4 separate regions of the Homo sapiens genome follow, and regions 1, 2 and 4 are each linked to region 3. Evidence: promoter capture Hi-C in 16 types of primary human blood cells and fetal thymus (Javierre and others, 2016). All regions are on one chromosome and are shown on one strand. Each heading gives the region's core, a stretch centred on a gene start or on the middle of the fragment in contact. The rest is flanking DNA. Distances are from core to core; before and after follow the strand shown. Region 1 holds the start of MXD1 (MAX dimerization protein 1). Region 2 overlaps TIA1 (TIA1 cytotoxic granule associated RNA binding protein). Region 3 holds the start of GFPT1 (glutamine--fructose-6-phosphate transaminase 1). Region 4 overlaps TIA1 (TIA1 cytotoxic granule associated RNA binding protein).

Evidence for each region. The method cuts DNA at HindIII sites, captures the fragments that hold promoters and counts their contacts. A CHiCAGO score of 5 or more calls a contact.
Region 1: the fragment with the promoter of MXD1 here is called in contact with the fragment with the promoter of GFPT1 in region 3 in 3 of 17 cell types (naive CD8 T cells, total B cells and naive B cells); the score reaches 7.5 in naive CD8 T cells.
Region 2: a contact is called between a fragment that was not itself captured here and the fragment with the promoter of GFPT1 in region 3, in 1 of 17 cell types (naive B cells). The highest score is 5.6, in naive B cells.
Region 4: a fragment that was not itself captured here is called in contact with the fragment with the promoter of GFPT1 in region 3 in 1 of 17 cell types (naive CD8 T cells); the score reaches 5.6 in naive CD8 T cells.

Annotation. Positions count from the first base shown.
Region 1 is chr2:69,912,924-69,916,573 of GRCh38, forward strand. MXD1 (MAX dimerization protein 1) reads left to right here and starts at 2,186. Exons shown (of 6, transcript NM_002357.4): 1 at 2,186-2,480; 2 at 3,198-3,297. The coding sequence starts at 2,408. RefSeq lists enhancers at 1,350-1,399, 1,412-2,017, 1,500-1,609, 1,710-1,909 and a silencer at 2,560-2,789. The HindIII fragment of the contact is 7,248 bases long and covers 1-3,575 here.
Region 2 is chr2:70,213,748-70,216,993 of GRCh38, forward strand. TIA1 (TIA1 cytotoxic granule associated RNA binding protein) reads right to left here. Exons shown (of 13, transcript NM_022173.4): 8 at 3,139-3,246; 9 at 2,657-2,752; 10 at 2,461-2,545; 11 at 1,624-1,747; 12 at 602-747. Among named protein-coding and RNA genes, the nearest start is that of C2orf42, 24 kb to the left of the region's middle. The HindIII fragment of the contact is 2,188 bases long and covers 422-2,609 here.
Region 3 is chr2:69,385,266-69,388,849 of GRCh38, forward strand. It overlaps GFPT1 (glutamine--fructose-6-phosphate transaminase 1), which reads right to left and starts at 1,962. Exons shown (of 20, transcript NM_001244710.2): 1 at 1,800-1,962. The coding sequence starts at 1,806. RefSeq lists silencers at 1,542-2,211, 2,272-2,381 and an enhancer at 1,754-2,313. The HindIII fragment of the contact is 6,543 bases long and covers 1-3,584 here.
Region 4 is chr2:70,230,574-70,233,857 of GRCh38, forward strand. TIA1 (TIA1 cytotoxic granule associated RNA binding protein) reads right to left here. Exons shown (of 13, transcript NM_022173.4): 3 at 183-281. Among named protein-coding and RNA genes, the nearest start is that of TIA1, 16 kb to the right of the region's middle. The HindIII fragment of the contact is 3,093 bases long and covers 314-3,284 here.

The DNA of each region.
Region 1 (3,650 bases), core at 936-3,435, 530 kb after region 3:
TAACCACTGAAACCAGAATATGCCTATATGTCAGGCATGATTTACTACATGTTTATTCTATTTATTGAGTTGATTTAATTTTAGTGGGTTTGTGGACATTAAAAAATACATGTTTAATATTTCCCACCATAATTACATTTACACCTTTGTCTTTCTTTTTCTTCAGTACTTGAGTTGTCAGTGTTTTGTGACTCAGTCTGGAAATCTGTTTAAACCACCTTGTCTTTATACAACTACCAACAGGAGGATTGGTAATTTGGGCTCTGGGTGAGACATACATAGGTTCAGTTTCCATGTCTGCAGCTGAATGCATGACAGGGAAAATCATTTAGCCTCCCTGGGCCTCAGTTTCTTCACGTGCAAAATGTAATTAACACAACCTACCTCATGGGGTTATATTGAGGATTAGAGATAATGTAGGTAGGATACCTACACATAGTAAGCTATTATATATTGGCAACAATAATAAACTTTTAAAAAAAGAAATATGTTCATGCTTTACTCATTTGTATTTTGGGGACTCAACCTACCAAGAACTTTATTTCTACTTTTAAAATTGGAGATGTCTGTCAGTACATTGGCAGTGTAGCTTGGTTTGCCAGATAGCTTTCATTTCAAAAATTTTAATAGGTTTAGGGACCGATCTTTAACCTTTTTAGTTCTGTATACGTAACATTCTATTAAGCATTTATATTGGTACCACCCCATGCGGAAACACACAATTTGCAGACGTCTTAAAGAGTATTCTTGGCCGGGTGCGGTGGCTCACGCCTGTAATCCCAGCACTTTGGGAGGCTGAGGTGGGTGGATCACCTGAGGTCAAGAGTTCGAGACCAGCCTGGCCAACATGGTGAAACCCCGTCTCTACTAAAAATACAAAAATTAGCCGGGCGTGGTGGTGGGCACCTGTAATCCCAGCTACTCAGAAGGTTGAGGCAGGAGAATCGCTTGAACCCGGGAGAAGGAGGTTGCAGTGAGCCGAGATCGCGCCATTGCACTCCAGCCTGGGCGACAAGAGCAAAACTCCCTTTCAAAACAAACAAACAAAAACAATAATCTTGTGAGTGTTTTCATCTAGAATTAAAAGGGAGGGGAAAACCCCAAAAGAGATTTAAGCAAAGAATCTTAGGGTTTAATGCCATTCTGTAGGTTCAGGAAGTCTCTGAGCTTTAAAAAGCCGCTCGCGTGAAAGTAATTAATTATTCCATCACTTCCCGGGGGTGGAGGGGGGTGCGGAAAAGGCGCATGAGCTCAATGCTGTATACTGCAGCCCGATTCCAGCTCTTTCTTGAGGGCAGAAAAAACGCCGAGCGGCGAGCATTTAACAACGGCCGGCTTTTCTTCTCAAGCCCCGCAGCAGCCACGTGGCGCCTGCCCTAGCTCCCGGCTCACCGGCCACTAGCCTGCACCGCTCTTCGGGAGGATTCGAGGCTGGGCCCTCGCCAGCCCGAGTTCCGCGAAGCCCAGAACCTCCAGGGCCGCGGCCACCAGACCGAGGGCTCCGGCCCCGAACCCAAGCGGGGCAGAGCGCCCAGGCGACACGAGGTGCCAGCCTTCCATTCGATGGACGCCTGGCAGGTCCCCGGAAGTTTTCCCCGGGGACAGGTCTTGGCAACAGGTCCGAGGCAAGGCCGGGTGGAGCAGAGCTCCGCAGCGGCTGGTGAATCAGCGCCGCCCAGCGCCGGACCGGCCCTCCCAGCCAATGCCAGACCCGGTGAGGAGCAGCCAGGCTGCTGACCATCAGCCACTTAGGGCTCGCCTGGCCTGGAGAAAGGTGACATCATCGTAGCTGGGAGGTTTCCGAAGGCTTCACCAATGGGAGACCGGCGAGGTGCTTGCCTTCTGCAGCTCTTGGCCAATACTAACAAAGCAAAAGGGGGCCCGGGTTGTTGGTATAGAACCAATGGGAAACAAGGAAGGAGCACGAGGCGGAGTTGCGAATCCTGTCACCAGTTGGAAAGAGGGGGTGGAGCCCGGGCCTTGTCAAGTGTGACCAACCAGCGAGAGGAGCGGACTTTGCGGGGTGGAGCCCTGAAGCCCTCTCCCAATCGCACAAGTGTAGGGGCGGGGCATTCTTTGGGGGGCCCAATGAGGAACGCGGCCGAAGCTGGCCTGTCAAGAGAAGGGGCTGGGGGCGGGGAGATGGTGAGTCGGGGATAAACACTCCGCGGCGGTGGCGGCTGCTGCTCTGCTCCGGGTTCTGTCACTGTGTCGGCGGTGCCCAGCTCACTGGCCCCCTCCCTCTCTTGTCGAGCGTGGTTGCCAGAGAGGCTCCCTCAGCCCTGCTCCGCGGGGTCCACAGCGGGCTCCACAGCGGGCTCCATAGCGGGCTCCACAGCGGTCCGGCGGCGGCAGCGAGCCCGTGGGCAGTGGGGGTTGGTCCCGTGGCTCCGGCCCCCGGTGCAGAATGGCGGCGGCGGTTCGGATGAACATCCAGATGCTGCTGGAGGCGGCCGACTATCTGGAGCGGCGGGAGAGAGGTGCACGGGGACGGGGAGGGGTCCACTCGAAACGAGGCCGGGGGTCCTGTGGGGCCGGCCTCAGGTCCGGGCGCCCAGCCGCTCCGGGGGTGGTTGGAGGCGGGGAGACCGCGAGCGCTCCCAACCCCTCTGGCTCTCCCCACGCGCGGTCCGAAGGGAAGCCGCCGCTGCCCCAAAGCAATGAATGGGGTGGAGAAGGGGCTGCCGCCCGCCGGGGTCCCGAACGCCGCCCCTTCCCCAGCCCTTCACGAGTGGGTGGCCGGGGCCCCCTCCGATAGCCTCCCTGGTTTACCTCACCCGGGCTGGTCCCGGCCGGCCCCCAGGTGGGCCCGGCGCCCCAGTCTCCTGGGCAGAGGAGCAGCGCCTCCCGGTCCCCGGCTCACGGTGCTTGCCCCGCACCTTCGCCTGAGCTGGTTCCACTTAACCCGCACCAACCTGCTGGATGTAGCCAGTGGGAAACCCAGGCTGCGTGAGCCTAGCCACTACTGTGTCTTTCTCAACAATGAGCAGCTGGAATCCTCCTTACACCTGCTCCGAATTGACGATATTCACACAATTTTTTTTTAAATCATTGTTCTCAGAATTCCACCTTACTCCATTTAATTATTTCCACAATATTCTTTTAAAGATAAATAAAGGAAAAAGGAAATACTGTAGAGAGGAGAGAGCATTAAATATTCTGGGCCCATTCATTAACTGGATCCTCCTGTTTTCTAGAAGCTGAACATGGTTATGCCTCCATGTTACCATACAATAACAAGGACAGAGATGCCTTAAAACGGAGGAACAAATCCAAAAAGAATAACAGCAGTAGCAGGTAATTTGGTAAATACTTCTTTCTGTCTTTTAGATTATATTGTAGGTGACACAAACTGCTGAATGTAAGTTTTCTGTTGTGATTATAACCCTATAAAATTACATTGTGGCCGTCATGATTCAGTAATGTACACATGGACTTAAGCCATTGCAGGAAGCTGTTTCTGTTTGGGTTGAGGGAACTGAAAAGAAAAATAGAAATGTTTTACATTTCTTTATGAACTTTATTCAAAATTTAATTTCACTTTTCTTCCCTTTTGGAACAAAAAAATCTGTGGAAGCTTCAAGTGAGATTAGCAATGGTGACAGTATTTTCCCTTCAGAAGTTGCAGATTCAGGGCAAGTTTTCTATAA
Region 2 (3,246 bases), core at 266-2,765, 830 kb after region 3:
TTCAAGTGATTCTCCTGCCTCGGCCTCCCAAATAGCTGGAACTACTGGTGTGCACCACTACACCTGGCTAATTTTTGTATTTTTAGCAGAGGTGGGGTTTCGCCATGTTGGCCAGGCTGGTCGCAAACTCCTGGCCTCAAGTGATCCACCCACTTCAGCCTCCCAAAATGCTGGGATTACAGGCAGGAACTACCACGCCCAGCCCACTAAATTCCTTTTTAACCTCTCAAGTATTTTTATTTCCAGTGTGTTTTTCAGAAATGTAAGTAAAATAGTGTAATTCAGGGTGTATAAGGAAGCTTGCAATGTAACAAGGCATATTGAAAAAACCCTTTGTACAGAAAAAAGCATAATGAATACAACAACTAGCATCAAACTCAGTGTATATAAGAATGGCTAAGTGACCATTAGTCATGTGAAAAGCTTAACAACTATTAAGCTCTTATTTTCTTACTAAAAAACAATTTTAAGTTCTTTCAAGGCTATAGTTACGCTTTACATAAGAGGCCCTATTACCCACTAATTCTTAAAATTTCTTCCTACTTAAAATTTCTTTAGACATTTTCAAAGGTTAGTAAAGGAAGACATAAGATATGCTTACTTAAATCCTTGCTGGTTCCATGCCTGGCCATACATTCCATATGCAGGAACTTGCCAACCATTAGGCATATACTGGCCAATTTGTTGTGCATTTCCATACCACTGGCCCCACTGGCCATAAGGTTGGGGATATCCAATTTGATTCTGCTATTAAATAAAATTTAGTATTACTTGAAGTTAACTATATATATACAATCCTAATATGCTGATACCACAAATTCTTAGCCAAAACACACAGGGCCATCATTACAATTAAAATGACAGGATAAACAAGAGTTGACTGCTAAAAAAAAAAAAAAAAAAAAAAAAAACAAAAAACAACAACAAAACAAGTGAGGTTATACTGCTGTAACTCTACGTGATACTCTGAATGGCATAGTTTTTGGAAGGCATCAGTTGATACCCTAGTAATAAATGTTAAACTTAGTAGAATGTTTAAGTGTTTGGTATACTATCTACATGATTGTTTCCTTTAGATAGGGAAGATGTGATTAATTATTTCTATATTCAGCTTACTTAAGACACTTATATAGTTTAGGATTTGCTTACTCCCATCTCTGTGCTCCATTTACAGTTTCCTCATAGAAATCTTTGTGGAATCAAGTTTGAACCACTAAAGCTGCCTGGAAAAAAAAGGCAGCAAAATCTGGAAGAAAAATGCCAAGGCCATAACTATATTTACAGCTTTATTTTTGTTTCAGTTGAGTCAAGCATGCTTGTGAGTTCTCCAAATGGTATGTGAATAAATCTACCAAGTATTAAAAAAAGATGTAATACCCTTTTAGGTTTCTCGGAGCATTTTAAAATCCACTGTGTGAGCATGAGTCAATTGAGGCGGTCACATTCATCATGTCACCACTGCAATCCATGAAACACCATTCTGGAACTATAATACATGTAGGAAGAGCCCTTATATACTATCATTTTAGCTAGAAACTTATTAACAAGGATTATCAACAATCTTCACCTTAAAATAACATTATTAGCCCAACAATTACTTCTCAAAGTTAAGAACCCTCTCACCTGTTGCACGGGATTTATCATATCAAGAGTTTCTTTGCCCCAATAGCATTTCACAACATGACCTTCAATGGTAGTACCATTAACAGAAACAATTGCATGTGCTGCACTTTCATGGGAATTGAACCTATTGAAAACAATATTAAGAATCACCAATACAAATTCTTTTAAATATTTATGAATAAAACCTATTTTTAAAAATCAAGGTGAGTCTGAGGTAAAACAGTTTGCGTAACATGGCATATTTTCTTTGCTATTTTTTTCAAAGATCTTGTAGTTCTGGGGCAACTTGTGTTAACAAAGAATGTGTGTTTCACTGGCCTTGTGTTAGGGAGGGAGCTATAAAATCACAGAGGCAAATACGCTGGATGCTAGAGAAATTTCAATTTTTTTTTTTTGAGATGGTGTCTGGCTCTGTTGCCCATGCTGGAGTGCAGTGATTGTGATCTTGGCTCACTGCAACCTCCACCTCCTGGGTTCAAGTGATTCTCCTGCCTCAGCCTCCCGAGTAGCTGTGATTACAGGCATGCACCGCCATGCCGGCTAATTTTTATATTTTTGTATTTTTAGTAGAGACGGGGTTTCACAATGTTGGCCAGGCTGGTCTCAAACTCATGACGGTGATCCACCCGTCTCGGCCTCCCAAAGTGCTGGGAATACAGGCGTGAGCCACCGCACCCGGCCAAAATTTCAACTTTTTTATAACCAAGGTAAATTTTTAAGAAAACGAGGTAAATGTTCAAAAAATATTTTGGAGGAAAAAGTTTTTTATTTTTATTTATTTTCTGGTTTTCCAGTTACATTACCAAGAAAAATGTTTTTTTAAAAAACCATCCCTACCGAACAAATGAATATCCTTTATCTGGAAAGACTCGAATTTCCATTATTTGTCCAAATGGTGAAAAAGTCTGACGCATTAGTTGTTCTGTTAGACAAAAAACCAAAACAAACAAATCACACTAAGTTATATAAAAATCCTACAAATATTAAGCTTTGCACTTTAAAAATTAATGCCACACAGGGAAGGCTCCCATACCTGTTAGCCCAGAAGTAACACCTCCACAGTATACAGTACAGTTGCTTGGACTAGACTGATTTACAACCTCATCATATGATAGCTGTTTGGTATTTGCTGGTGAGAGAAAAGGTTTATGTCTTTAATTCATTAAATAAAATGTGCAGAAAGAGAAAAGTAGCATTCACTACACTACTGTAAAGGTAACATTAACCTTGATCAAAATGCTTATATTACACATATTATACTTCAGTTCAGAATTAAACCTCCCCCACGAATGTCTAAAAAATTACCCAGTATTTTCTATTTAATAGGAGACTTGACATTAGAAATAATATTATTTATAATTACAAAAATGAAAACTAAGTACATTTTTGAATAGTAGTCTTGATTTGCTTCTCATCTATTTCTGCAATAAGTCTCCGGGAACAGCTCTAACATTTAAAATCTAGCGTATTTTTCTCCAAAATTCCACATTTCCTTTTCTTCTCCAATACACCTACACTCATATGTACTCTTTGGAGCGGGAGGCTTTCGGGTTGCCCAGTTAGTTCTGATTTGTCTTCCACCAAGCCACTGGCCACCCATCTGTTGAATGGCGTTTTCAGCAT
Region 3 (3,584 bases), core at 712-3,211:
CCCAGGCTGGATTACAATGGCGCGATCCCGGCTCACTGCAACCTCCACCTCCTGGGTTCAAGCAATTCTCCTGCCTCAGCCTCCCGAGTAGCTGGGATTACAGGCGCGTACCACCACGCCCAGCTAATTTTGTATTTTTAGTAGACATGGAGTTTCACCACGTTGGCCAGGCTAGTCTTGAACTCCTGAGCTCAGGTGATCCACCTGCCTCGGCCTCCCAAAGTGCTGAGATTATAGGCGGGAGCCACCACGCCCAGCGCTGATTTATTTATTTATTTATTTTTTTTTCAGTAAGTACTTTGACTACGTTTTTTTCTTGGAACATGATGAAATGACCTGCAACCAGAATGTTGAGTACTTGATGAGGCACACCCCTCATCATTCAGGAACAGTTAACTACCAAATGAAGCACACTGGAGATTGACCAGTTTGCAAATTCACTACTTCACAGCTCCAAACTAAATGCAAAACCATTCTACTAAGTAGACACTGCAAAAGTCTGATTCTGAAGTCAGCTCTACTCTAATAATTTCAGTAAGCTATTTATAGGTGTTTCTGTTTTTATGTGGGTTTTTTTTTAATCTACTCTAAATTTAAACCTGCTCCTCATTTTCAGAAGCTGAAATGAGCATAAAGTTAAATACAGGAAATATATACACTAACGAGTACAATCCACCTCCTGTTCAGTTCCTTCGTGTAAAAGGCTGCAAATAAGAAGTCTCCCAGAGAGTTTTCAATTCTCTTACAATGGTACTTCCCTTTAAAAAAAAAAAAAAAAAGTGTACTTTCTTCCAGGGATAAAGTCGGTTGTAAATTTCAATAAGAAAGGTAAGAATACAATTATTTTTACTGGCAATAGCCAAATTAACACCAATTTTAGAAGATATCAGTCATGTCAGACACGATTCTCAAAGTCTCTTTCACTAACACTTAGGTCATAATAAACGACTCTCAAAACATGGAATAAAAGGGCCTAACCTTAATTTTTTAAGGCTCTAGGAAAGATATTTGCTCAACTTTCCATAGCTAGTATTTTTAATGGATGCACATGCAAGGGATAAATGATATTTTTCATAGTTGGTATTCTAAAGGGGTATACATCCAAGGTATAACTGATATTTTTCAGAGCTGGCATTTTTAATGGGTGCACACGCAAATGATAAATTATGTATAACCTATCGCCACAGACATTTGAAGGCCTCTTCCACCAGAGGATCAGGTCTAAGCCCATGAACCAAGTTATTGATTAGCAATGGTTTCTGTTGAGACAAGGGATGGCAGGAAGTATCACGTTTAATGGCACTACCGTGGCTCTAGCTAGGGTCTGTTTTCTATTGGGCCTCCCCAGAAACAAGTAAAATATTTTTTTAAAGATTTTTAGAAAAATGCAAGGTAAGTTCAAGAGACCTCGCCCGAGGTTCCACAGGTTTCCTCACTCACCTGGTGGGCCCTTTTGAAGGCAACCCCCTCCACACCTCAATTCCCTCAGCTCTCTCCTCCTTTTTCAATAAAGGCGTTTCTCTCCCCTTTCGGTTCCTTCTCCGCGCCAAGGCGCCCGCTAGCCCCCGGCAAAGGGGGCCCGCCTTCCTCTCAGGTGCCTTTCTCCCGGCCGCCACCCCCTCTCCCGCCCGTGGATGCCGGCCCCCGCCCCCGCAGCCACCACTGGGCGCCCCTTGCCCATCACCCAGACTTCGCACCCTCCACACTCCCGCTTCCGCCCGTCGCCTTGGGCCTTAGCGGCACCCGCACCGCACCCCAGCGCCACCCGGCAACACGCCCCCCGCTCCCGGCCCCCTTACCACACATGATGCCGGAGACACGGCCCGCGAGGCCAGGGGCGAGTGGCTGGCGGGATCGGGGGTGCACACACGAGCTTCGGTGGGCAATCTGCGGGCTCGGGGGCCGGGGTGGCGCCGACACGACTCCCTCGGGGATGCGACGGCCAAGGCAACGACAGCCTTCTCCGCCTCCCGGGCTCCGCCAGCAACCGCCGCCGGGCCCCGCCCCTCGGCGCGCAGCGCGCCGCCGCCCGTAGGCTCCATTGAACCGCTCACGCGCCGCTCACGCGCAAGTCCCGCCTCCCAGCGCTGCCCCGCCCCCCGAGCCCACGCAGGCGCTGGACTGCTGGCGGCGGCGACGTGGCAGTGGCTCGTGGCCGCGTCCGCCTGGAGTTCCTGGAGACGCCCGCCCCGGGGCGAGCCGCGGGAGGGACCGAGCCGAGAGGGAGGGAGAAACTCAGCACCTGGCAGGGAATGACGGAAAGAGAAGGATGGAATTGTTAGCAAAGCAATAGCCCGGGTGCGTGCCCCGTGCAGCCCCAGGCCCCAGGCGCCAGCACTGCACGAAGCGAGGAAAGAGGAGGAAAAAAGCAGGAAGTATGAAAAGGGAATCCTGGGGAACATAAGGCTGAAAAAAATTGCAAAGAATTAGGTTGAGGTGGGAGGAGAGAGATAACAAAATTCTTGACTGTAAAGCCCCAAAGGTCAGCCTCTCTGGTAATAAGCAATTCAATTCCTTGTGTAATATGCTTGGCCCCTAAAAGCCCTCCGCATCCGTTGCCTCCATAACCCTCAGTTTATTGTGGAGGGGTAGAGGAGGAATGTAAGGCTCAACTATCCGACTATGAGCCTGGACGTAAGAAACTGCTGGCCCACCTCCTCCCATGACCCACCTGAGACGGCTAGGAATTCCCTAGCTTTAACAGCCGCGCGTTTGACTTACGAACGATTCATTCTATGAATTAATGCGCCATGTCTGACAAGAGAGACTTGATTAGAGAGGGATGATGTTTCTGAGAATTTATTACCTGGGCATTTGCTTTAAACAGCCTTAAATGGTATCTTTAGTCAAATGTGGAGTAATCAGAACTCTATAATGGCTCTAGAGTAGAGTAGTATCAAAAACGTACATGGCACACAGAATTCCTGGAGTGCTGACTGCTGTTCATGTGTCTGGTCTTAGCCTGCTGACTGCTGTTCATGTGTCTGGTCTTAGCCGTCCTTCCAGCCCTATACACTCCCAACAGGCTCAACAGGTAGTTCCTCAACTGGGCCAAGATTCTCAAATCTTTTGCACACTTTGGTTACTCTGCATAGAATCCCCACCACGTCTCTGTTTAGATGCTACCTCTTCAGGAAAGCCTTTTTTATCCCCCCTAGACAGACTTGGAGACATGCATTAACCTCTTACTCTTTGAGCTACTCACTGTAAAGAAATATTCTTTGATATTTTATGATTTTCTGTATTTTCCCACTGGGCTGTAAGTTTCTTGAAGCTAGAACTAGATTTTACATACCCAACACTTTTAGACCACAGCACAAAGTAAAAGATCAAATTTATTTTGGAATGAGTGAAAAAAAGTCCTATTTTCTTAGCGGAATTAACCTTCTATGGCTGGTTATATGATTAAGTGAGCATAAGGCTTTCAGTTCTTCTTACGGGGAAAAGTGCCTTTTTTCACTTGCCTCAGAGAAGCTGAAAAATGTCACATTTAACTAAGCAGAGTATTTCTCACCTAAAAGCCCTTTTGATATTTCAATCCCTTAAACAGGTCCCTGGATCACCCAGAGCAAAGTTTAAAAAAA
Region 4 (3,284 bases), core at 610-3,109, 850 kb after region 3:
CCCAGGAGGCAGAGGTTGCAGTGAGCCAAGACTGTGCCATTGCACTCCAGATTGGGCAACAAGGGCAAAATTTCATCTCAAAAAAAAAAAAAAAGTGTTTAATGTTTCTAAAAAGGAAACAAAATCATATATAACTTAAATTTTTTCAGTGCAAGTCACCTTCTTTAATTACGACAGCTTACCTTACCCATTATCTTCCGTCCATTCATAGCAGCTAATGCTGCAGCTGCATGACGATGCTCATGAAACTCCACAAAACAATAGGGATCATTTCCAGCTGTCTGTGGGAGAAGAAACACAAAAGCCAATTTTAAGCTTTATTCACCCATTACCTTAAAATTATGTAAAAAAAAAAATCTTAAACCAAGTTTTATACATCTAAGTTATCAGGCCATGGAGAATGAATGGTCTATTCCACAAGTAAATTTTAGATTTAAAAAAGTAGGCTGGGTGAGGTGGCTCACACCTGTAATCCCAGCACTTTGGGAGGCCAAGGCAGGTGGATCATGAGGTCAGCAGTTTGAGACCAACTTGGCCAACGTGGTGAAACCCTGTCTCTATTAAAAAAAAATACAAAAATTAACCAGGCATGGTGGCAGGCTCCTGTAATCCCACCTACTCGGGAGGCTGAGGCAGGAGAATTGCTTGAACCCGGGAGGTGGAGGTTGCAGTAAGCTGAGACTGCGCCACTGCACTCCAGCCTGGGCGACAGAGCAAGACTCCGTCTCAAAAACAAACAAACAAAAAAGTAAACAGCCAGCTCCTGTAGTCCCAGCTACTTTAGGAGGCTGAGGTGGGAGGAATGCTTGAGCCCAGGAGTTTGAATCCAGCCTGGGCAACACAGCAAGATCCTGTCTCTAAAATAATTAAAAAGTAAAAAAAAAAAAGCAAACACTTAAAATCACACTGCTTTTATACATAGCTATTTTCTTCAACAGGTTATACTATAGTACTATAATTTAATATTAATGACTAGGTATCCTAACTGGATATATAGCTACACATACCCCATCATCATATAACCATTTGTTCAAGCTACACAGATTAAGTTTGACTGAACTCCTAAGTTCTGAAGTCTCACTTCGGCTTTTTATGATTTTTCTATCCCCTCCCTGTTATAAGTTACTTTTTACTGCTACAAATGTACATTGCTCCTTGCTGCTACTAGCTTGCTGAGTAGCAGAAAATCTTAGCCAACCTTCTTAAACCTGTTTTAAAATATAGGTAAATAGGCTCTGAAAACTGAAGAGATTCTCTGGTAAGTAAAATTTTAGAATAAGTTTTAGAATGTGAACTTTCTGACATCAATTTTTTGCTTGCTCAGAAGCCTTTAAAAAATTATCTTCCCGCCAGGCGCAGTGGCTCATGCCTGTAATCCCAGCACTTCGAGAGGCCGAGGCAGGCGGATCATGAGGTCAGGAGATCGACACCATCCTGGCTAGCACGGTGAAACCCCGTCTCTACTAAAAATACAAAAAATTAGCCGGGCCTGGTGGCGGGCGCCTGTAGTCCCAGCTACTCAGGAGGCTAAGGCAGGAGAATGGCGTGAACCCAGGAGACGGAGCTTGCAGTGTGCAGTGAGCCGAGATTGCACCACTGCACTCCAGCCTGGGCGACAGAGCGAGACTCTGTCTCAAAAAAAAAAAAAAAAAGAAAAAAGAAAAAAGAAAAAAAATTATCTTCCCAGCCAGGCATGATGGCTCACACCTGTAATCCCAGCACTTTGGGAGGCCAAGGTGGGCTGATCACCTGAGGTCAGGAGTTTGAGACCAGCCTGACCAACATGGTGAAACCCTGTCTCTACTAAAAATACAAAATTAGCCGGGCGTGGTGGTGCATGCCTGTAATCCCAGCTACTCGGGAGGCTGAGGCAGGAGAATCGCTTGAACCCTGGAGGCGAAGGTTGTGGTGAGCCGAGATTGCGCCATTGCACTCCAGCCTGGGCAACAAGAGTGAAACTCTGTCTCAAAAAAAAAAAAAAAAAAAAAAAAAAAAAAAAAATTATCTTCCCTTGGCCGGGCACAGTAGCTCATGCCTGTAATCTCAGCACTCTGGGAGGATGAGGCAGGTGGATCACCTGAGGTCAGGAGTTCGAGACTAGCCTGGCCAAAATGGTGAAACCTCATCTCTACTAAAAATACAAAAATCAGCTGGGTGTGGTGGCGTGTGCTTGTAATCCCATCTACTCGGGAGGCTGAGGCAGGAGATTCGCTTGAACTCAGGAGGGGGACGTTGCAGTGAGCCAAGATGGTGCCACTGGATTCCAGTCTGGGCGCACAGCGAGACTCTGTCTCAAAAAAAAAAACAAAACTTCCCTTTTCTGCTGGTGTTCCAGGTAGGTGAGGCTATGTGATAAATAGAACCTGGATGTTTAATTATAAATTCAAGTAGCAGAAAAAAATTCCAATTTTTACACCTACAGTGCAAAATATCAAATGACATTATAGGCCATTTTAAAATTCTTTCCATAGCCTCCTAAACAGATTTGTTAAAATAAAAAACTAATTCAAAAGACTAGAAAGCTACTAAAATAGAGGAATATACAATTTTATTTCAAGTACAGTTAATTAATTTTTTTTTAGAGATGTGGTCTTGTTATGTTGCCCAGGCTGGTCTCAAATTCCTGGGCTCAAGTGATCCTCCAGCCTCTGCCTCCCAAAGTGTTGGGATTACAGGCATCAGTCACTGTGCACATCAACAATTAATAGTTTGAGAGTCACTGGCAATGACTTGTAAAAATTTTAAAGCAACGAGGCCAAGACAAAGTTTAATATATTGGGACTATATTTTGTCTAAAAAAATTAGAGAATAAAAATGTTATATAACTCAAACTAATAAAACACAATGGGAATTCTATTACCAAGATCAATGCTGACAGGCAACACTGAAATGAAGTTAGAAAAAGTCACTTGCGGCTGGCTGTGGTGGCTCACGCCTGTAATCCCAGCACTTTGGGAAGCTGGGGTGGGCGGATCATGACATCAGGAGATCAAGACCACCTGGCCAACATGGTGAAACCCTGTCTCTACTGAAAATACGAAAACTAGCCAGGTGTGGTGGCGCATGCCTGTAATCCCAGCTACTTAGGAGGCTGAGGCAGGAGAATAGCTTGAACCTGGGAGGCAGAGTTTGCAGTGAGCTGAGATCATGCCATTGCACTCCAGCCTGGGCAACAGAGTGAGACTCTGTCTAAAAAAAAAAAAAGAAAAAGTCACTTGCATTTAAGAGTAAATAAATGAAAAAGAATATGCTTTACTTAATTTATATGCAGAAAAAACTAACTT